Linked DNA regions of Homo sapiens: region 1 is linked to region 2. The links are contacts of gene promoters, found by promoter capture Hi-C in blood cells and fetal thymus (Javierre and others, 2016). All regions are on one chromosome and are shown on one strand. Each heading gives the region's core, a stretch centred on a gene start or on the middle of the fragment in contact. The rest is flanking DNA. Distances are from core to core; before and after follow the strand shown. Region 1 overlaps LSP1 (lymphocyte specific protein 1). Region 2 holds the start of CTSD (cathepsin D).

The links. Contacts are between HindIII fragments. The CHiCAGO score rates a contact against its expected background, and 5 or more counts as called.
Region 1: a fragment that was not itself captured here is called in contact with the fragment with the promoter of CTSD in region 2 in 1 of 17 cell types (monocytes); the score reaches 7.8 in monocytes.

The regions. Positions count from the first base shown.
Region 1 is chr11:1,865,067-1,871,785 of GRCh38, forward strand. All of the region lies in intron 1 of LSP1 (lymphocyte specific protein 1), which reads left to right. Among named protein-coding and RNA genes, the nearest start is that of MIR4298, 8.9 kb to the left of the region's middle. RefSeq lists enhancers at 5,535-6,073, 6,074-6,611. The HindIII fragment of the contact is 173 bases long and covers 5,225-5,397 here.
Region 2 is chr11:1,762,677-1,769,631 of GRCh38, forward strand. It overlaps CTSD (cathepsin D), which reads right to left and starts at 1,251. Exons shown (of 9, transcript NM_001909.5): 1 at 1,116-1,251. The coding sequence starts at 1,183. RefSeq lists silencers at 821-910, 1,161-1,630. The HindIII fragment of the contact is 14,818 bases long and covers 1-5,359 here.

The DNA.
Region 1 (6,719 bases), core at 4,061-6,560, 110 kb after region 2:
AGCTGGGCACAGGGGGGCAGGGGTGCGGGAGGAGGGCAGCAGAGAGGAGGGCCAGCAGGACAGGAGCCTTTGAGATGCTGCTCTATCCCCGGGGCTGGGGTCAGGCCAGGTCGCCGCCTGAGCAGAGGCTGCAGCCTGGGCAGTCCCGGGCTTCTGAGGAGGAACTCTAGCAGACAGGGCCTGGATACCTCTTGAGGTAGGTCCCTCCTGCCCTGGCTGGGCATGGAGGGCAGGGCAGGGTGCCCATGCTGGGCTGCCACATGCACCGGGCCACTGGGCCTCCCCCCAGCTTCGGTAGGCTCTGCTGCCCCAAGCGTGGGCAGCGAGAGGGTGCCAGGCTGGTTGCGTGTACATGTGTGAGTGCGGAGGCTGCTTGAGGCCTCTCTTCCTCCTGGCTCCTGGCAGCTGCCCATGCATTCTCCTTCCCCATCCCACCTGCACTGCCGGCTGCGCTGTCGCCTGCTCACACCGTCCCACCCGCACCGCCGGCTGCACTGTCACCCGCTCACACCGTCCCACCTGCACCGCCGGCTGCACTGTCACCCATTCACACCATCCCACCTGCACCACCGACTGCACTGTCACCCGCTCACGCCGTCCCACCTGCACCGCCGGCTGCACTGTCACCTGCTCACACCTCTCCCCGAGCCCCAGGGATTCTGCTTGACTCTGAGCCCCCAAAATGAAGGGCCCATCCTCTGGGTGGCTTCTGGGGCCTCCCGTGGGGTCCTTCGGATCCTGGGCACCCTTCAGTCACCCTCACTTCACAGATCATGAAACTGAACTTTGGGCTGAGCTTACCGGCCCTGGCTGCAGCCACCAACCCTGAGTGGGAGGCTCCTCAGGGCCAGGGAAGGTGCCCGGGCCTTGTCCACCTGCAGGTGTTGGGCCAGTGTGGTGCCCTCTCCCAGCCTGTTTCTTCCTCTGTAAAGTAGTGGTGTGGCCCTTCATGGGGTCAGGTGGGAGAGCAGAGTTTGGAGGGCCCAAGGCTCCTCAAGACCCAGCCTGGGCAGTCTCAGAGATATCCCTCTGCACCGTCAGCCACTCTGAGCCGCCTGTAGTGCCCTTTCTCCTCCTCAACCCTTCCAGGCTTTTAAGCCAAACTGAAACACCACCTCCTGCTTGAAGGCTGCCTTGCTTCTTCCTAACCTGGAGGGCTGTCCTGCTCTGACTTCCTTTGATGGCATGGAGCATGCTGGCCGGACCTCGAGCTACTGGAAGGCAGGGCTGGCATCGGTCGGCTTGCCACTGCCCACCCAGGCCAGGCACTCAGTGCTGAGACTCTGAGAGGCCAGAGAGCCAGGGATGCCCATGGGGGTGAGCTAAGTGGGGTCTGAGGAGTTGAGGGCAGCCCGGCTCACCCCTCCTCCCCAGCTCCCACTTGTTGGGTCCGTGCAGATGCAGAGAGATGGCTCCGATCTGGTCCCCACCTGGCAGGGTCTCCGGCTGTCACCTGAGTTCAGGACCAGCACCAGGATCTGCAGTGGGCCCCTGGCTGGGCACACCTCATCCCAGCCTCCCCCTACCCCTGGCCCCCCATAAGCCTCCTCCTCCTGGGCTTCCAGGCTCTGCTGGTCAGACCTCCCTCCCTGCCCAACGGGAATGTGTTTTCCCAGGGGACGCTGCTGTCCACCAGGAGCTCTGTGGCCTGGGATTTGAGGAGTGCCTGGGGTCAATCCCCCAGGCTCACCAGTGCTACTTAACAAATGGGCCCAAGAGAAGGAAGTGCAGCCCCCGGAGGAGGGGCAGAGCCCCTGCCTGGCTGTGCGGTGGCTCACCCCCTTGTCACCAGGGGCTCGGCCATGAGCATCCGTCCAGCGGGCCCAGCACCAACTGCAGCCCCAGGTGAGCAAGCCGCACTCAGGAGGCACTGAAACCGTGTGGGCCCAGGCTCGGGGCCAGTCCCTGTGGACCTGGGGAGGAGACACTGAAGCCGCGTGGGCCCAGGCTCAGGGCCAGTCCCTGTGGACCTGGGGAGGAGGCACTGAAGCCGCGTGGGCTCAGGCTCGGGGCCAGTCCCTGTGGACCTGGGGAGGAGACAGTGAGGAGGGGACCTCACTTGCGGTGGTCAGCCAGTGGGTTGGTGGCATAAGGACCCGTCCCTTTGAACTCCCTTGGAACTTGTCCTGATGGGGGCTGGGCAGAGGGCAGCAAGAGTCCCTTGTCCAGCTAAGGGGAGCCACCAAGGTGAGCTACATGAAGCAAGGCTGACACGTGTGCACTAATACACACCCCCTCCAGGACACAGACCCAGAGGCCGCTGCACCCCACCCACCCACCACACCCACACACACACATGCACACACACACGACCACCCGGGACAGTACTGCGCTCACCACCACTGCCATGATCTCTTCTCTGCAGCCTCCAACAGCTCGGACTTCCCCAGTCCCAGCCCTGCAGGCCAGGCAGACTGCCCCCTACCCACTCCCTGTTGGATAAAGGAGTGAGCCAGGCTCAGAGAAGCTGTGGGTGAAGAGACTTCAAGGCCACTCAGCCGGGCATGATGAGCCCGGGTCCCTGGGTCCCTCCTCCACCCGCATCACCCCACCCCTTTCCCGGGGACCCCTTGGGTGTCCTGCCATGTCAGGTGCAGGGCTGGGAGAGGCATTGCAGGCAAAGTGCTGTGTCCTCAGTGATGAACCCTGAAGGGCCATGCTAGGTGCCCGCAGCTGCCAGGGAATAAATTCAATGCAGTTTACATCCATTAAAAATGGTGCTCTGGGCCAGTGGGAAAACGTGTCCCCCCTGCCCCGTCGCCCCCCACCCCTGCCCCAGCGATTCTCCTTGTCTACACCCAGTGCAAGCCCAGGGGCTCTGCATGTAGTCCCATAACACCATTTTCTCCAGGTCTGGCTGTACCCAGCCCCTGCCAGAATGCGGCTTCTGGCTGGCAGGGTCAGGCCCTGGGCTGACCTACCCCCAATGCCTCCCTGCCAAGTCTGCCCTTCCAGGCACCTGGGAGTCTGCCCTGTGCCTCCTGCCTGCCCCTGGGCAACTCGGGGCTCTCCCAGGGCCAGCTCGGGCAAGGCAAGTGTTAGGGATGGTCAGGGGACCTCAAGAGGACTTCAGCCCACTCAACTCCAGACGTCACCCGGACTCAGCCAGCGGCCTGGCCCTGCTACCTGTGGGGTCCTGGCTTTGTGAGAGGGCACCAGGCCGGCTGAGAGTGCCTTGTAGCCTGGCCCGGAGTGAAGAGGGGGGCTGGGGATCAGCCTGGCAGACGTTCTTATCAAGCATTGAGGTCCCCGGAGCCCCGTGCCCACCCTTAGCCATGGCTCTTTGGGCGGTGTGAGCCCCTCCATTCCCTCCATCTCGGGCACACATCTGCCCACACATATACAGATGTGGCAGCCACACCGTGCTTGGCTCTCCGCAGGGCTCTAAGGCCCCTCAGGCAGGGACCCACCCTGAGCAGCCTGGTCCAGGGACCTCTGGGGCTCCTGATGTGGCCAGTGGGGCAGGAATGGGCTGGCAGCCTGCTGGGCTGGCCCTGAGGGGGCTGGGGGAAGCCAGGCCTCCAACCACAGTGTCCAAAAGGGTGTGGCTGCCTTGGGCCCATCCAGGCCTGAGATCCTGAGGGTGGGGTAGCCCCCGCCCTGGCAGGGCTGGAAGTCGGTCTTCGGACAGAGCCCGTCCTGCCCAGAAGCCCAGGCGAGCCAGCAGCAGGGGTGCAGGGACCGAGTGGCCCAGCCCCCTGGGCAGGGTGTCAGGGCCAGAGCCCAGAGGACGGCGGTTCAGGCTTCAGTCCCAGCCGGCGAACCAGAGCTGGGCAGAGCGGCCAGCAAGCGGCAGCCAGGGTGCCCTGGGCACTCGACCCCCAGATGCCCCTGCTGGAACCGTAAAGGGGAGGCACCCTGAGGCCAGAGGGAGCATGGCCCCGGGGACTGAGCATCCGGCTCAGAGCGGCTTGGCAGAGGTCGGTGGACTGGGGTTAACCACAGAGGTCTCTGGAGGGCAGACAGGAGCCACTGCAAGTGGGAGCTTGTGGGAGAGAAGCCCTTGGGTGACCCCTGGATGGGGCGGGGACCATTAGGGAGAAGGGTGAGGGGCTTGGCCCCTGCCCCAGGCTCCAAGTGGGCTGAGACCCGGGAGGCTTGAGGGTCGGCTGCTACCCATGACGGGTTGGGGAGGTATTGGTGCGAGCTGAGGTGGTGCTTGCGGAGGTGAGATTGAGGGCCGGGCCTGGCCAGGGATGCTGGGAGGGGGGCAACCCTGTGCCTGGGGCTGTGAGGGTCTCTTGACGAGAACAAACCCTACCTGGGGAGAAGTGACAGAGAAAAGAAAGAAAGAAAGCGAAGGCACGAGAAAGAAATGAGAGAAAGGGAGGGAAAAATGCTGAGAGGGAGGGAGAGCAGGGGCTGCCTTGAAGGAGGAGGGAGGGGGAGCAGAAGCGGGTGCAGGGTGGTGGCAGGATGGGAAGGGCAGAGGGAGGGGCTGAGGTGCGAATGGAAGCTGTGTGAGGGTCCCGGGCACTGCCCCTTGCCGCCGACCCCAGGTGTGGGAGGAGGGGTCTCTCCCACGTGGGCCGCACCTAGCAGGTGCCGGGGCAGAAGGCTCAGAGCCGCTGTCTCACACAGCTTCTTGGTGCTCCAAAGACGGGCGGTAGGAGGAAGATCAAAGAAGCGAGAAATGGATGCTGGAGGAACGCAGTGAGGCCAGGCGAGGGCTGGCGAGCTTGCCAAGGAGAGGGCGGGCGAGGAAAATGGGGCGCCCCACAGAGGAGGGGGCGTGGGGGGGGCTGGTTTTCCCCGAGACTGAGAAATGAATTTCTGCACCCGGACTGGGACCCCCTGGGTCAGGACCCTCCACTCACATTCAGGAGCAGCACCTCTTCTGGCCTCTGTCCCTGCCTGGTCTTCCCCACACCCGGTTCTTGGGGGTTGAGGGGTTGGAGCCCCAGCCACGTCATCAGCTCCCTGGGACCCCTGCGTGAGACGTGAGAGGTGCACCTCCGAGCCTCCGTTTGTGCATCTGTAATGGGGATGATAGGACTGCGCCCCTGGCGACCATTGTGAGGACGGAGGCGCTGGCTGCACTGGTGCTCACTGTGCCTCTTTAAACGGGGATGTCTGGACCTCTGGTGCAGAGGACCAAGGCCGGTCCACTTGACCTCAGCCATGAGGACATCCCAAGGCCATGTGAGTCTCCCACGGCCCACTGAAGCTGGTCCTTCATACCCCATTTTGCAAACAGGAAAGCTGAGGCTCAGGGAGGCACCAAAGCTTACTCCCATCCTGGGGCTTGGCAGGGGGTGCCCGCAGCACCCGGGGACATACACCGGGGAGTCTCCTGGGAAAGAAGTGCCGGCCCAGGGGCAGACTCTTTTCTGCTCTGCCATGTCTTCCCTGCACCCCCAGGGATGATGAGTCTGGGAGGGGCTGGTCAGCCATGAAAGCTTCGGGGAGGGGCCGGTGGCCAGGCCGGGCACCCCAGAGCTCCACAGGCAGACATGGTGTGGGGGTGTCAGGAAGAGGGCCTGGCTGCTGGGTGCTACGGTAGGAAGATCCCGGTGCTGTGGGAGTGGAGCAGGTGGTTGAATGCCAGGCTGGCTTGGTCCTTCTCTCTGGGTGCCGGCTGTGGCTCCCGCCCAGGTGGGCACCACGTCTGAATAATGTATGAAGCCTCTGGTTGCGTGGAGGATGGGAGCGCTTCGGGCAGCATCTGTGGGCAGAGACTTCAGGGATGTGAGGTACATCTGGGCATGGCTAGCTGGGAAGGAAAGAGGATGGCAGAGCCTCGAGCCGTTGCCAGGGACTGGTTGCGTGTCCCAGAACGTGCCAAAAGCCTGCCTCGTGAGCACGGCAAGAGCTCTGCCAGGGCAGTCCCAGCTGGCCCAGGCGCCGCAGCGCTCCCGAGGGCCGTCGAGCAAAGGCGGGAGGCGCAGCCGGGCTGTCGGTGGACCTGTAGGTATCAGGGCTCCTTGGTCCCCTCCTGCGGGAAGCAGGCACCGAGTGGGGCTGCATGTAGACGCATGCGAGGGTGAGAGCTGCGGCGGAGGACGCTGATCGCGGAGTGCAGGCGAGGGCCCCAGAAAGGTCCCGCAGGTCGCCTCGCTCGTGGCACGGGCTCGGCAGCGTTGTGGTTAGTGACACGGAGGAAGACAGAAAGCCATATGCACAGCACGCAGAACAGGAGGAGGGGGGAAGAAAGAGCAGGCACGGGGCAGGCAGAGCCGCAGCCACGCCGCCGGGATGCAGCAGGCAGGGCCACCCACGAGCAGGGCGGGGCCCTAACCTCCGACCCAGGCTGGTCGCCGCAGATGGGGGCAGAGATGTGAAACAGCTGCAGAGCGGGACAAGGGTGCTGCCGGCACAGGGCTGACCACAGAGCACATCAAAAGAGGTAGGGCACCCAGCGCAAGGGAGGTGATGGGCTGGTCAGCAGGACATCAAGCCGGTTCTGGACCCTGCTCTGAGGACGGTCCCTGACCCAGCCTCTGAGGACCAATGGGAAGCCAGGGGTAGAGGGGTTGGGGGAAACCAGGCTCCATTTTCCAGTCTCAGCAGGGGGCCAAGGCTTGCGGCTCTGCGGAGGCCACACCATGAGGTTTCCAGGGTCATAGATGCCCTTTGGTCAGCGCTGTCTGCCGCTGCACGGGCACCCCTCCTGTTGGGTGTCTGGGTAGACTTGGGGGTCTGTCCGGCTGGCGTGGGCACCTTTGGGAGGGGGGTGTGTGTGGCGGGCAGGCCTGGGCTGTAGTCACCCCAGCCCGTGC
Region 2 (6,955 bases), core at 1-2,500:
CAGCTACCCTTCCCTCCAAGAAGCCCCAGGATCGTTTCCCCTCTGCTGTGTCTGTCCTCCTTGGAGAGGGGAGGCCTGTGGATAGGCTGGCAAGGTCAAGGCAGGCTCAGGCTTGTGGCTACTCCCCCACAACGACTTTAATTGGGGCTACCCGCCCCCGGGCCATTCCCCACAGCCTTTGGTGAGGCTCAGTCCTACCCAGCTGGCCCAGCCAGCTCCAGCCCCTGCAGCCTTCTGACCTCACCCACCTGCCAAAAGGCAGTGGACCCATCGCAGATCCCAGGTCTCCCACAAAGGCCCAGAGCAAGGGTGGGGCAGGTGCCCAATGGGATGGGTCAGCATACCCCTCCTGGGAATGCGGGCTGCCTTGCAAGGGCTGGGGAGGGGGTCAAGAAAGCAGACTGCAGCATGGCCCTCCTCTGCCCAGCTGGTCAGGCATGGCCGGGCCCCATCCCATCCAGGCCCAATCGGTGGCCTCACCTGGCACAGGGGATCGGCCTGAGGAGCGTGTGGGCCTCACTACAGCACAACCCCAGGCCCGGGGTGGGTGAGCCGACCCACTCCCCATGCCTCCTCCTCTCTCAGGGACATGGGAACTCCTAGGGTCTCGAGGGGTCTCCCAGCCCAGGGCCTGTGATAAGAGCCGCTGGAGCAAACTTTTAAAGCCCCCAGTTCACAGGTGGTAAAGGGGTCCCTAAGGAAATGGACTCGCCCAGACTCGGGGGCTCTGAGGCCTGACCTAGGTCTCCAGCAACAAGGGCGCTCAGTACAGACCCCAATTCCACCTGCCCCGAATGAGCACTACCTCCCCCCGCCCCGCCCCGTCTCCAGGGAGGCTGCGGTCAGTCTGCAGTCCTCAAGGTACAACCCAGGGTGGCATATGGGGGAGAGGCATCTGGCGCCTCTGCCCCGGGTCCCCTGCACCTCCGGAGCCCGGCGCCCCGTAGGCGGGTGGTCCGTGCAGGAGGCCGCGCAGGGCGGCACAGGTGCATTCCAGCGCGGGGGGCGCAAGGGGCTCGTGGGGGCCACAGGGGAGCGCGAAAGTCACCACAGGCCCCGGGACCTCGGCGCCGCGACCCCTGCCCGTCCCTGAGCCCCGGCCCCTGAGGCTTCACCTGACGAGCGCGGAGGCGGGTGCAGCCAGCAGGCAGAGGGCGAGCGGCAGAAGGCTGGAGGGCTGCATGGCGGCGGCGGCCGGGTCGGAGAGGGTCGCCGAGGCCGTGCGCTTATAGCCGGGATGACGCCGCAGTTGGGCCGGATCAGCTGACCCGCGTGTTTGCACCCGGACCGGTCACGTGGGCGCGGCCGGCGTGCGCGGGGCGGGGCGGAGCGGGGCCTGGCCTGGGCGGGGCAACCTCGGCGCACGCGCACAGCGCCCGGGCGGGGGGCGGGGTGGTGGTGCGCCTGCCGCGCCTACAGTTCCCGCCGCTCGCGCCCGCGGGGTCAGCCCGGCCCAGCTTCTGGGGTCTGGAGGATTCCCGTTTCGGCCTGGCCTGGGGTCGTGGGGCGGCCCACCCTGGAGGGCCCCGCGGGGTGACCCCTGTCCCGGCCGCCGCGGCCGTCCCCGCGTCCAGGCCTGCGCGGGGCGCTGCGCCGTGGGCTCCTGCACCTGCTCCTCCCGGCGCCCCCTCGTCCCCCTCCGAGACGCTCCCAGACATCCTCTCTGGAAGCCTCTTGCAAACCAAGGTTAAATTCAAAGTCCCCAGCCCACCGAATGGACCCTCCGCTCCTCTACAGGGCTTCCAGAGAAACCTGGAAAACCAGCTCAGGCCCTGCCGCAAAGGGGGTCGGACCCGCTCCGCCCTCTCCCTCTGGGCGCTGTGCTTAGAGACTCAGGCCTCACCGATGGCTCTAGCCTCCAGATCCCAAATTCCAGCCTCACACTGGCACAGCCTCACGTGGCAGACAGCAGGCCCGAAGGCAGGCAAAGTATTCCACCCTAAAATACATTCCTTTCACATGTTTTGATATGGCACTGCACAGCTGTCTCTTGAGGGGGCGAAATTCGCGTTTTCTAGAGAAGCTCCTTCCCTTAGGAGGTCGGGCACCTTTTGTCCACTCACGTCAACTCTTTTTTTTTTTTTTTTTTTTTTGAGACAGAATCTCGCTCTGTGGCCCAGGCTGGAGTGCAGTGGCATGATCTCGGCTCACTGCAACCTCTACCTCCTGGGTTCAAGCGATTCTCCTGCCTCAGCCTCCTAAGTAGCTGGGATTACAGGCGCGTGCTACCACGCCTGGCTAATATGTATATATACACACACGTATGTATATATATATATACACACACACACATATATAGTGTATATATACACATATATATACGTATATATATACACTATATATGTATATACATATATGTATATGTGTATATATGTGTATATATACATGTATATGTGTATATATGTGTATATATATACATGTATATGTGTATATATATACATGTATATGTGTATATATATACATGTATATGTGTATATATATACATGTATATGTGTATATATATACATGTATATGTGTATATATATATACATGTATATGTGTATATATGTTTTGTATTTTTAGTAGAGATGGTGTTTCACCATGTTGGCCAGGCTGGTCTCGAACTCCTGACCTCAGGTGATCTGCCTGCCTCAGCCTTCCAAAGTGCTGGGATTACAGGCGTGAGTAATCCCACTTTAACTCTTTAGGCAAAACATAACTCTTTCAACCACTTGCCAATCAGGAAATCTTTGAATCCCCTATGACCTGGAAGCTGCCCCTGCCAACCCTGTTTCTAGGCTGAACCAATGTATATCTTACATATGTTGATTTATGGTTTTGGCCTGTAACATCTGTCTCTGTAAAATCCGTAAAACCAGGCCGGGCATGGTGACTGTTGCCTATAATCCCAGCATACTCGGAGGCCAAGGTGGGAGCATTGCTTGAGCTGAAGAGCTTGAGATCAGCCTGGGCAACATGGTGAGACCCTGTCTCTACAGAAAAGACCTGAAAATTTTAAAAAAAAGTATAAAGCCAAGCTGTTACCCAGCCACCTTGCTCACATATTCTCAGGACCTGCTGAGGTGGTTTCACAGGTCATAGTCCTCACATTTGCTCAGAATAAATATCTTCAAATATTTTATAGTGTTTGGCTTTTTTTCAACAACACTCCCTATACCCAGGGTACCCAGATGGACCTCATCCTTACTCTCCAAGTGTCCCCTGCCCAAGCGCCCACTCTCCACCTCCTCAGAGCAGCACCTCACTGGGCCCTGCCCTGGCCACCCTGGGCCCTCCTCCCTTAGCCCAGACTTGCCCATCTCCAATGTGGCACCATCCCTGGAACCCCATCTCCAACGTGGCACCGTCCCTGGAACCCCGTCTTCAACGTGGCACTGTCCCTGGAACCCCATCTCTAACGTGGCACCGTCCCTGGAACCCCGTCTTCAACGTGGCACTGTCCCTGGAGGCCTGTCTCCAACGTGGCACCGTCCCTCTAGGCCCCGACCTCAAAGGTGAGCAGTGTATCCAGGTCAGAAACTGGGTCTCCCGACACTGAGCCTGCAGAGGCCATGGTGACAGTTGCCCCAGGACTTCACCATTCTCGTGTGCCCTGGTCCTGCCTGGCATGGGGGACTGAATTAGGCCTGTTGGAGGGGAGGGCCCGGTCATTCCCCAGATGCTCTGGAGCACACAGCCAGGCGGGAGGTGCGGTCGCTGTAAGTAGGAAAGGGATATTGGGACAAATCATTTAAGGCAGGTCCAAGTCACACAGGAAATGGAGCCAGGGGATGTGCTCAACAGCGACCTCCGCAGGAAGGTCCCTCCAAGAAGGTGGCATCTGAGCTTGGACCCAAATGAAGGATGCTTCCCCATGCTCTCACCCAGGGTGCGTTTTCTCCTCCCAGCTCCCTGCGAGGTAGATGGGCCCAACCCCGCTTTACAGAGGCAGTGAGGTTCTGTGGTTCTCGGCGGGCGGGATTGGAATTCCCACCTTTTCTGTAACCAAATATATCAGGACCTTGGCCCTTGCGGAACCTCCCCGAAGCTGGATCTGCCTGATGGCCACAAATGAGTGGCTGCCCCCTCAGCCCCACCTTCCCGCCCATTTAGAGCCCTTCATCTGAGGGGGTTCTAAGCCTGAACACAGAAGCCCGAGCAGACAGACACCCTTGCCCTCAGAATCTGCCCAGCTGCTGGGGGTCCACACCTTGCCCTCAGAATCCGCCCAGCTGTTGGGGGCCCACGGCCAGCCTGGACCTGGCACCTGGGGTTATCACGTGCTTTCCAGTGGGCTGGGATCTTGGAGATGTCAGCCGACCCTGGGGGACTGGACTCCAGCAAGGGGTGAAAGATGGTCCCAGCTAGTGTCCCCTGAGCCACCCTGCTCGGTCCCCAGGTCCAGTGGTGGACGAAGCATTTGGTGTCCAGGATACTGAGATACGCACCTGTGAGGACGCATGCCCACAGAGCGTGGCCGACACTCCACCCAGAGGTCCCGGTGAGCCGGTGAGGCTGCGAGCCAGTGGGTAGTGCGGATGGCCAGTGGGGCCAGAAGCACAACGTGGCAGCGAGCTGTGGGGTGTGTGGGCCGGTGCTAGCCAGGCTAAGAGCCTTGGACCATCCCCTGAGACAACGGGGCACTGTTGAGCAAGGACCCTCTCGGGGCCCCAAGGGTGAAGAGGCCCCACCCCACCGCAGATACCATCTGTTATTCTGTTTATTACAGAGGGGGCATTCTGCCTGGGCCCGCTCAGCTTCCCAGCTCCTGGAGCAGAGCCCGGCACGTGGTAGGTGCCCAGTAATTATGTGTGGGATGAATGCCTGGGTGTTCAGGGTCCCCGAGGGACTGACCCACCAGGCAGGGTGGGACCCTGCTGGCATATTGGGTGAAGGTCAAGGGAGTGGCTTCTAATCCCCTTGCCTCTGGCTCACCCGGGCAGACCCTCTCAATCTGGGCCTCACCTCTGTCCCTGGAGAGTTGAGGTTGGGCTAACGGTCTCTGGAGCCCTTGCCTGCCCCTGCTAGGAGCTGAGGGTACAGAAGCGACCCCTGGCCTCCTTGTCTGGCTCAGATTCCCCAGACTCCTGCACCTGCCAGGCCGATTCAGGAGACCCTCTTCCCACCAGGGCTGCCTTCAGGGCTCCTGGGCCAGTGGGTGCTGCAGCGTGTCCAGGCCCCGCCTCTGGCAGAGTGCAGGGGACAGGGCCCTTTTTCACCTTTCACACCCTTCGGCTGACCGCATGCAGGGACATGGGCTCCATCTGTGGGGTGCTCGGCCCACCTGGGGAGAGGAGGCAGGAGGTGGGGGCCAGGCCCAGGCTCCATCTCAGCCTTTGCCATCGCAGCCCACTGAGCTTCCCACCACGGAGGGGCCCCAAGCTTCTCTCTGGGAAGCCAGCCACAGGACGGGGGTCGTGGCTTCTCCGGCTCCCTCCTGGCTGTGTGGAGAGTCAGGGAATCAGAGGATGGCAAAGTGCCCGAGAGGAAAGGGGCAGAGAAGGGAGTCGGACCTGCTGGGTGCCCGCTGCATGCTGACACCTAACAGGGGCAAGCAAGGGCTGGAGGCTGTCAGCCCAACCCTGCCTCTCCATGGGGAGTGCTGAATCCCAGACTGGAAAGGGTCTGCCTGGATGGGTCAGTCCCTTGGGAGCCTTGAGAATCTGCTCATTCACTCAACATGTGAGTGTCGGGCACCTACCACGAGTAGACGCTGCTCTAGGAAATCGAGAAAACAATAGGGAAATTCCCACCCAGTGCCGTTCATATATAGACAGGGGTGGGGGTGGGGAGGTGTGTGGAGGGGCAGAGATTAAAATGAAGCTGGGGGGTGGGTGGGACGCCCACGCAGGGCTTGGGGAGTGGAACGTACCAAAGAGGAGGCTGCTGCAGGGCACAGAGAGGGGCAGGGGAGGGCCCTGCGGGAAGAGAAGCCTCTTCTAATCGACCTTTTTTTTTTGAGGTGGAATTTCATTCTGTTGCCCTGGCTGGAGTGCAGTGGCGTGATCTCCACTCACTGCAACCTCTCCCTCCCAGGTTCAATCGGTTTTCCAGCCTCAGCATCCGGAGTAGCTGGGATTACAGTTGCCCACCACCACGCCTGGCTAATTTTTGTATTTTAAGTAGAGATGGGGTTTTGCCATGTTGGCCAGGCTGATCTTGAACTCCTGACCTCAGGTGATCCGCCCACCTTGGCCTCCCAAAGTGCTGGGATTACAGGCGTCAGCCACCCCGCCAGGCGCTCTAATCAGACTTGAAGGAGGTAATAAACCAAAGGCCTGGTCAGGAGCCGCTGACATGAGAACAGGAGAGCAGAGGCCATGAGGCAAAGGGAGCCGGCCTGGAGGTGGGGAGGAAAGGAAGCAGTCCGAGGTCAGAGAGAGGCAGTGAGAAGGGGTGAGACTCTGGATGCACTTTTGAGGTAGGGCCAGAGAATTTCCAGGTGGATTATTCGAAACCACCTTTGCAAAATTATGGCTGAGATAGCGGAAGAGCTCTAACTGAATCAACTCCATCTTGCTTCTAATCTCAAGCCATCCTTGTTCATTCCTGGGTGTCGGCTGAACTGTCTTTGAGAGGAATTTAGTTTATAGTTTAAACAAAGATGTTAACAGCCCTTTCCCCAAGCAGAACTCCTTCTTGCCTGGGGACTAGATGGCCTTTGTAGGACTAACATTAGCCACAGGGTTAGAAATTATGGTTTAGGAGTCATGCAGCTGGAGGCTACAAGATTCTGACCCTCTCTCAACTGCTCCTAAGATCAGCGCCTAAGATATTTTGCAGACCTTGCACTTGACGGATCAGCTGGCACCACCCAGATCAATAAACTGGCTCATCTGATCTTGTGGCCCCCATCCAGGAACTGACTCACCGCAAGAAGACAGCTCCAACCCTCTGTGATTTCATCCCTGGCCAATCAGCACTCCTGCCTCACTGGCTTCCCCGTACCGCCAAGTTGTCCTTAAGAACTCTGCTC